Regions from separate parts of the Homo sapiens genome. Here all the other regions are linked to region 1. The links are contacts of gene promoters, found by promoter capture Hi-C in blood cells and fetal thymus (Javierre and others, 2016). All regions are on one chromosome and are shown on one strand. The core of a region is centred on a gene start or on the middle of the fragment in contact, and the rest is flanking DNA. Distances in the headings are between cores, read along the strand shown.

What was found. The method cuts DNA at HindIII sites, captures the fragments that hold promoters and counts their contacts. A CHiCAGO score of 5 or more calls a contact.
Region 2: a contact is called between a fragment that was not itself captured here and the fragment with the promoter of ASPG in region 1, in 3 of 17 cell types (endothelial precursors, activated CD4 T cells and non-activated CD4 T cells). The highest score is 7.6, in endothelial precursors.
Region 3: a fragment that was not itself captured here is called in contact with the fragment with the promoter of ASPG in region 1 in 1 of 17 cell types (naive B cells); the score reaches 6.0 in naive B cells.

What each region holds. Positions count from the first base shown.
Region 1 is chr14:104,084,387-104,087,015 of GRCh38, reverse strand. ASPG (asparaginase) reads right to left here and starts at 1,316. Exons shown (of 16, transcript NM_001080464.3): 1 at 1,164-1,316. The coding sequence starts at 1,245. The HindIII fragment of the contact is 21,966 bases long and covers 1-2,629 here.
Region 2 is chr14:104,540,859-104,543,487 of GRCh38, reverse strand. It overlaps LOC124903395 (a long non-coding RNA gene), which reads left to right and starts at 1,690. Exons shown (of 2, transcript XR_007064361.1): 1 at 1,690-1,726. The HindIII fragment of the contact is 3,308 bases long and covers 1-2,629 here.
Region 3 is chr14:103,805,976-103,808,604 of GRCh38, reverse strand. The region is part of intron 1 of PPP1R13B (protein phosphatase 1 regulatory subunit 13B); the gene reads left to right. Among named protein-coding and RNA genes, the nearest start is that of PPP1R13B, 40 kb to the left of the region's middle. RefSeq lists an enhancer at 1,613-1,712. The HindIII fragment of the contact is 151 bases long and covers 1,216-1,366 here.

The DNA of each region.
Region 1 (2,629 bases), core at 67-2,566:
GGCCAGGAGGGGCAGCTGCCAGGGAACAGGCCGTGAGAGGGGGTGGGGATAGGAGGGGCGGGGAAGTGGTTGGCAGATGGGCAAGGGACAAGAGAATGTTCTGGTCATGCCAGGGGAGGCCCTGGGCTCTGGCAGAGCCGGAGAGGGTCCCAGCCGTCCCAGGAGAGAGAGCTGCGCTGGACACAAGCAGGAGTGTGGGGAGGGGCCAGGGCAGCAGGGAGTGGGAGGAGGAGGAGTGGAAAGGGCTCCTGAGGGAAAGGCAGGCAGTGGCCCATGGAGGGTCGCAAACAGGTTCAAGACGGGGCGAGGGGGCTGTCCTGGCCCCAAGGGAGGCCCCACATCACAGCAGAGCCCATCTGGGGGCCCCAGGCAGTGTCCTGCCCTCCTGGGGAACACCCAGGCATTCTGGAGGCTCCAGTGCAACCGTCCTCTCCCCATCCCGGTGGCCTCAGGCTCCCCAAGCTACCATCCTTCCTGTGCCCAGCCCAGGCTGGCAGCACTGTGCTGGAGTACCACAGAGCTCGGTGCCTGTCCCAGGCCCTGACCCCACCCAGGCAGAACTCAGTCCAGACGCAATCGCTGGTCTCTGGTCAACCAGGTCCACACAGGGGCAGAGGAAGCAGGGCTCTGAGGCCACCTCGGGTGTGAACACGTGCGTCCCCGCAGATGCCAGGTAGCCCCAGTATCGTGCCAACCACTGCTGCCTGACCAGGACCCCAGGGGACGGGGACACCCTCCTGGGTGTCGCAGTTGAGGGGTCCTCGCAGCCTCCTAAGCCTTCTCCAGGGCAGCCTCCTAAGCCTTCTGTGTCCAGAGCAGGAGCGGCAGGCCAATGCCCTGGGGCCCTCCCGCCCCATATTCCAGGACTTCAGGACGCTGGCCCTCAGGGGCGCAGCGGCAGCACAGGGGGCCTGGCCCCAGGGTCGCAGGGCGCTCCCGGGAGCACCGCGACGGCGAGAACCCACCGCAATCTCCTCTGTCCAGGTCGGGGCTCCATGCGTGGGGACGCCGGTGGCCGGAACCGGAGGAGAGCGACCTCAGCCCGCACCCCCCATCCAGGCGCGGATTTGACTCCCCAACGACCCCCGTGGGTGCAGGAGGGTCCGAGGCTCCCGGTCGCGGCCAGGTCCAGAGGCCTACCCCGCCCAGGGTCTCGGACTCACCGCCGAGCTCACTCCGCATGCCAATGGTGCCGCCGGTGTAGACGGCCAGCAGCCTCCGCTCGGGCCCCACCGCGCGCGCCATGCCGGACCGGGGACCACGGGAGTGGACGGGGGTGTGCAGCGGGGACGCAGGGCCTGCGGGACTCAGGGACTGCGCGGAGGAGGCCCGGGGCGCCGGGGGCAGCCTGGGAGGGCGGGGCCGGCGGGGGCACCCACGGGGAGGGGGCGGGAGTGGAGTCTGCCCGGGAGGGTGGGAGGCCCCGCGGAGGCGGGCGGGGGCAGGACCTGGGGGCGGGGTGGGTCCCGGGGACTGTCCAGGGTCGGAGAGAGAGGCGGGGCCTGGCGGGGTGGGGGCGGGGCCTGGCGGGGTGCGGGGCGGGGCCTGGCGGGGTGCGGGGCGGGGCCTGGCGGGGTGCGGGGCGGGGCCTGGCGGGGTGCGGGGCGGGGCGCGGCCTTGGAAACGTGTAGGAAGAGGTGAGGTCTGTGAGGGCGGCAGGGGGAGCTCCTGCCTGGGCAGGAGATTGGCTGGGGCCTGCTTGGGGCTGGGGAGCGCCTGTCCAGGGACTAGGGGGCAGCCAGAAAGGCAGCGACAGGGGTGGGGCGGGTCCTGAGCCATCCTGCGGCCATTGGCCCTCCGTGGCGGCCCTGGGTGTTTGAGTAGCTGTGACATGTGGTGCCTGGCAGACCGTAGTGCCCGAGGCCCTCCACGACCTGAGCACAGAGGGGGCTCCGTGTCCTGTCAAGCAGCCTCCACAGCCCCGGGGCTCCAAGGCCGGCATTGCTGCCCAGGCCCTGCTGTCCCTCCTTTGGATGGCCAGAGGCAGGCAGAGCTGGACCAGCCCCTCCACATGTGCCCATTCACACACCATCCAAGAGAAGAGCCCGAGGGGCCCCCAAGGGCTGGAGCGGGACAGAGCAGGAGTATGGCCTTCTTGGACAAACACCGCCATTTTAGGTTCCCTTTGATTAAAAAGCTGCCTAAATCCAGCCCAAAACACATCAGCCCAATAGCTAATGTCAGCACGACCGTAAACCACAAATAACATCTCCAATCAGAAACATGCCAACCTCGAGATAACCTCCCCTCCGACCAGAGACATTCCAAGCCCGCAATAAACTTTCCCTCACATAGAAACATTCCGAGCCTGCGATAAGCTCCCCACTTCCTAAACCCTTAAAGATCCTTAGTCTGTAGGAGAGATGGCTCCTGACCAAAATCGGCCAGAAGTCCCTTTCAGGTTTATTCTCCAAAATAAACCTGCCTTTGTTGAGCCGCTTTTCATGTTTCTTTCCTCTTTCTTTAACTCCTACAGAGCCCACCCTCCTTCACTCCCATGAGAGCCCAGGAGGGCAGGGCACTGGCGGGTGCAGGGTCCCAGGAGGGTCCCAAGCTGCAGGCTTGCTCCCAGGTGGACAGAAGATCCGCGGCCTCCTCGTCTCCTGGCACCTTGACTGCCTGGGGCACT
Region 2 (2,629 bases), core at 69-2,568, 460 kb before region 1:
ACCACACTGCGATGGTGGATGTGGGTATTTATTCTTGACTCCTTCTATATGGGCATTTATTTTGATGGAAAAGCATCTGAGTTGCAGGACGCACTAGCCCTCTTGTAGGCAAACCTGTGGAAGGTCTGGCTATTTGGGTCAGGAAGCTGCAGATAAGTGGGCACCAACCCTCCTGGGATGACAAGGTGAGGCGGTTCCTTGGGCTGGAGACCTGGGCTCTAGGGAGAAAGAAGAGCCAGCTCTGAGCTGGGTTTGCCACTAGGAGAAGGAATAGTCTCTCACACACCATCACTCTCATGGCTGAAGACAGTCTCTGCTCTGCCTCCTCTCCTCGTGGCCCAAAGTAGGGCTGGGCAGGTGGGGAGGGAGGGCTAAGGGTTCCCTATGCACTCCTCAAGCTGTGTCTCACAGTCGCTGTTGGAGGATGTAAATTTTCTCCCACTCATTCAAAACAATCTCACCATTCAAATTAAAAATGGACACAATTAAACAAAGTGTGCCTTTATATAGCTTGATCCTTGGGGCTAACATTTGCCTTTTTGTTGCTAATTTCCAGTTGTATGTCTTACAGTTTTTGCTTTGTAGATTTGGATGATAAATTATTCCCTGCTTAAAGGTTAATCGTTGCTGTGCCCTCATTGGGTCTTTAATTGTTCCTCAGAATCAAATTACTCTTTGTCTCTTTTAGTGCTTTTTGGCTTTATCTGATACTCATTTTACCAACTCTCTTTCTTATTGTTTATGCTTGCCTAACATATATTTGCTTTCCTTTTCTTTTTAACATTTAAGTATTTTATTTTACGTGTACCCTTTGTGAGGAGTGTATATTTGGATGGTTTTCTTTAAATAGTGTTTATTGTCAAAACAGACATGTTTGTTGATACATCTGTTATTTATGCTTTGTTATCCTTTTTCTTTCCCTATCTTTGGCTTTGTGAGCTGTTTTCTTTACTATTTTATTTTTTCTCTAGTGTTTTGGAAGGCCTAGTCCTTATTTGTATTCTTTTGGTGGTAAATTCTAAGTTTAAGTTGGATTTTTGAAAAACAGCTTTTTTGGGGTGTAATTGGCATACAATTAGTGACACATATTAAAAATGGACAATTTGATACGTTTTGACATATATATACATTTGTGAAGCGTCACCACAATCAAGATGTACAAATCCCCGCTCCTAAAGCCTCTTCTTGGCTTTCGAACTCCCTTTCTCCTTCCTCCCTATCTCCTGTGGCTTCATCTCCCCAGGCAACCATGGATCTGCTTTCTGTCACTACGGATTAGTTTGCGTGTTCTAGAATTTTACACACATAGAGTCATGAAATATGTACTCCCTTTTTTGTCTGTTTTTTCACTCAGAATAACTATTTTGAGATTTCTCCATGTTGTCTCACGTATCAACAGTTCATCCGTCTGTTGCTGAGTATGTTCCACTGTATGGATAGAGGAGCAATTTCTCTCTTCATCTGTCGGTGGGCGTTTTAGTTGTTTCCAGGTTTGGACAATTTCAGATGAAGTTGATGTAACATCGATATACAGATATATGTATAGAAAAACCTCCTTTCTCTTGGGTAAAAATACCTATGAGTGGAATGGCTGGGTCATATGGCAGGTGCATGTTTAACTTTTAAAAAAACCTGCCAAACTATTTTCCGAAGTTCTTGCACTGTTTTACATTCTTACCAGCAGTGAATGAGAGCCCTAGTCCATCCACATTCTCACCAGCACCAGGTGAGGGCGGCCACTTTAGCCCCTCTAAGTAGTGTGCAGCTGTATGTCATTGTAGTTTTAATTTGCATTTTTGTAATGGAAAAATAAGTTGAGAATCCTCCAACATGCTCACTGGCCATTCAGATATCATCTTTGGTTAAATATCTGTTCAAATCCTGCCTTATAAATCAAATTGGGACAAATAGAATTTAATAGATCATATCAACATTCATATTAAGTAAAAATGGCCTATACACCCAAATTAAAAGATAAGGATTTTAACATTGGATAAAAAAGCAAGACCTAACTATATGCTGCCTATAAGAAACAAATATTAGCTGTAAAGACACATATACATTTAAAGTAAAGGTATGAGAAAATATGTACTATACTAACATTAGTTAAAAGAAAATTGGTATGGTTATACCAATATCCAAGTAGATTTCAGAACAAACAATATTGTTGGGGTATAAAGAAGGTCATTTCCATAATGACCAAGATGTCAGTTAATCAAGAAGAGTTATCAATCATAAACGTTGATGAACCTAACAATAGAGTTTCAAAACACCTGAAACAAATACTGATAGAACTACGAGGACAAATAGACAAACGAACATTACAGTCTTCTTTCAATAATTGATAGAACAAGTAGGAAAAACTAATGAAAAATAGATTTGAACACTGTCAATCAATTTGACCCAATTGTCATTTATAAGACACTCCACACAAGAGCAGAATATACATTCTTCTTAAGTGCACACAGAACATTTACCAAGATACACTGTATTATGGGCCATAAGTCTCAGTACATTAAAAAGCATTCAAACTATACAAAAGTGTTTTCTCTGACCACAGTGGATTGAAATTAGAAATCAATAACTAAAGGAAATCTGTAAAAACCTTAAATACTTAATTAAATAACAC
Region 3 (2,629 bases), core at 42-2,541, 280 kb after region 1:
GTGCCACCTTGTGGAAAGAAGCTTTAGCTCAAGCTTGTCCAACCCATGGCACCGGGCCACAGGAGGCCCAGGACAGCTTTGAATGCAGCCCAACACAAATTAGTAAACTTTCTTAAAACATCATGATATATATATGTTTTTTAATGATCTTTTTTTCTAACTCATTGGCTATCATTAGTGTTAGTGTATTTTATGTGTAGCCCAAGACAATTCTCCAGTGTGGCCCAGGGAAGCCCAAAGTTGGGACACCCCTGCTTTAGAGCAAGGGACATCCATTGTTTCTCTAGGTTTGAGTGAAATCTGCCGAATACCACATAGTTATGTTCAAGGCTCCTGACTTTCACACTAATTTTTTTTTTTTTTTTGAGATAGAGTCACTGTCGCCCGGGCTGGCGTGCAGTGGCGTGATCTTGGCTCACTGCAACCTCTGCCTCCTGGGTTCAAGGGATTCCACTGTCTCAGCCTCTGAGTAGCTGGGATTATAGGCAGGTGCCACCACGCCCAGCTAATTTTTTTTTGTATTTTTAGTAGAGATGGGGTTTCGCCATGTTGGCCAGGCTGGTCTCGAACTCCTGACCTCAAATGATCTGTCTACCTTGGTCTCCCAAAGTGCTGGGATTATAGGCATGAGCCACTGTGCCCAGCCTTACACTAACTTTTTTTAAGAATATTTTTCTTCTCTTTGATGTGGACTAATTCAGTGATTAGAGGGGTAAAATATTGTCTTTTCTACAGAGAACTTGAAGATGAGAAAACAGGCAAACACCTACCTGTCATGATTCAAGAAACCTACTATAAAAAGACATTTCGTGGCCAGGTGTGGTGCCTCACGCCTATAATCCCAGCACTTTGGGAGGCCAAGGTGGATGGATCACACGGTCAGGAGATCGAGACCATCCTGGCTAACATGGTGAAACCCCGTCTCTTCTAAAAATACAAAAAATTAGCCGGGCGTGGTGGCAGGCACTTTTTGTCCTAGCTACTTGGGAGGCTGAGGCAGGAGAATGGCGTGAACCCGGAAGGCAGAGCTTGCAGTGAGCCGAGATCGCGCCACTGCAGTCCAGCCTGGGCAACAGCGTGATACTCTGTCTCAAAAAAAAGGGACATTTTACGTATAATTGGGGGAGTTTATTGAGTGCTTCTTACGTGCCAGGCACTGCTTCAGGCACTACTGACACAGCAGGTAATTAACTGAAACTCTGCTCTCAAGAAGCTTATGTGTTCTAGTGACAACAGACAGAGGATAAACAAATATATACATAGATCAGGTGGTGGTTGAGTGCTAAGCAGAAATACATAAACCAGGGTAGGAGGACAGAGGGATGGAGTAGTGCTATTTTAGGTAGACTCTCGGTTAAGGAAAGCTTCCTTGCTAAGACACCATTCCAGCAGAGGCCTGAAAGAAGAGGGTAATACAATGTCAGTAGCTGAGTGAAGCGGTCTATGCAGAGAATAGCAAGTGCAAAGCCCCTGAGGCAGGAGTTGGCTTGCCCTGTTGAGGGAGGCAGAAGGGATGAAGAGTGTGGTAAGCACTGAGATCAGAGAGGTATGCATGTGTGTGTTGCAGGTCTTGCAGGGCCTCTTAGACAATAGTTAGGACTTTGAAATTTATTCTCAGAGAGGAAACCACGGGAAGGTTTTGAATGAAGTGATGTATCTGAAGGGTGAGAGTGGAAACAGATGAATGAGTTTGCTCTTGCAGACATCCTTTCTGAGAGGTGGTGGTGGCTCGGGCTTGGGTAGTAGCCAGGGAGACGAGTTATCAGTTTCTGGGTACGAGGTTGACAGTCTTGCTAATGGATTGTTTGTGGAGTATGAGAGAGAAGGGAGTTGAGCCAATCCTTTATTTTATTCTCCTTTTTCTGTGTGGATGACAGCAACTCCCAGGTGTGTTTTTCAGTCTTTGAGAGGCTAATTGAGGAAAGTGAGATGAAGCATTTAGGGTGATGGCTTAGACTTAGTTTTCCTTACAGCTCTAATGTTTCTGAGATTTTAAATTGGTGAACTGAGTTGCAATCAGGGCCAGAAGGGACCTTAGCATCAATTCTCATTTTGGGGTGCGTGGCCTGCTGGAAAGCTAAAGGGGTCTTCCTGGTGTTCACCCACCCTCACCCCAACTGATCCTTTCTGTGGCTTTTATGAGCTATTTACTCATAACCTACCAAGTGAGTTATTGCAAGTTACTAAAATTTAGTATAGCTTTTATCACCTTATTTCTCTTCAGTTATTTTTTGTTATCCCTGAGCTCCTTTTCCACCAGAAAGAAGTAGTAGATGGTATAGGTGAGCTGGGGGATCTAATACTTTACCTGATTGGGTTGGGCCAGAAAAGCCTGAGAGCCATTTTCCTGCAAATATGTGTTTCATATTATCTGCTGAGTTCTTGCCAAGAAACCAAGACCCAGAGATAGACTAAGGAGCAGCTTCCCCAGCCAGTTGCAGCAGTCAATGCCATAGCTAAGGATAGAACTTGGGCTTCCTATTCCAGGGTTCTTTGTACCATGTAAGTCAAGTTTCTGAATTCCTTTTCTAGAAGTTTTATATATCCTACTTTTTAAAAACAGCTTCATTGTGTTATAATTTATGTGCCGTAAAGTTTACCTATTTTAAGTGAACATTCAGTGATCTTT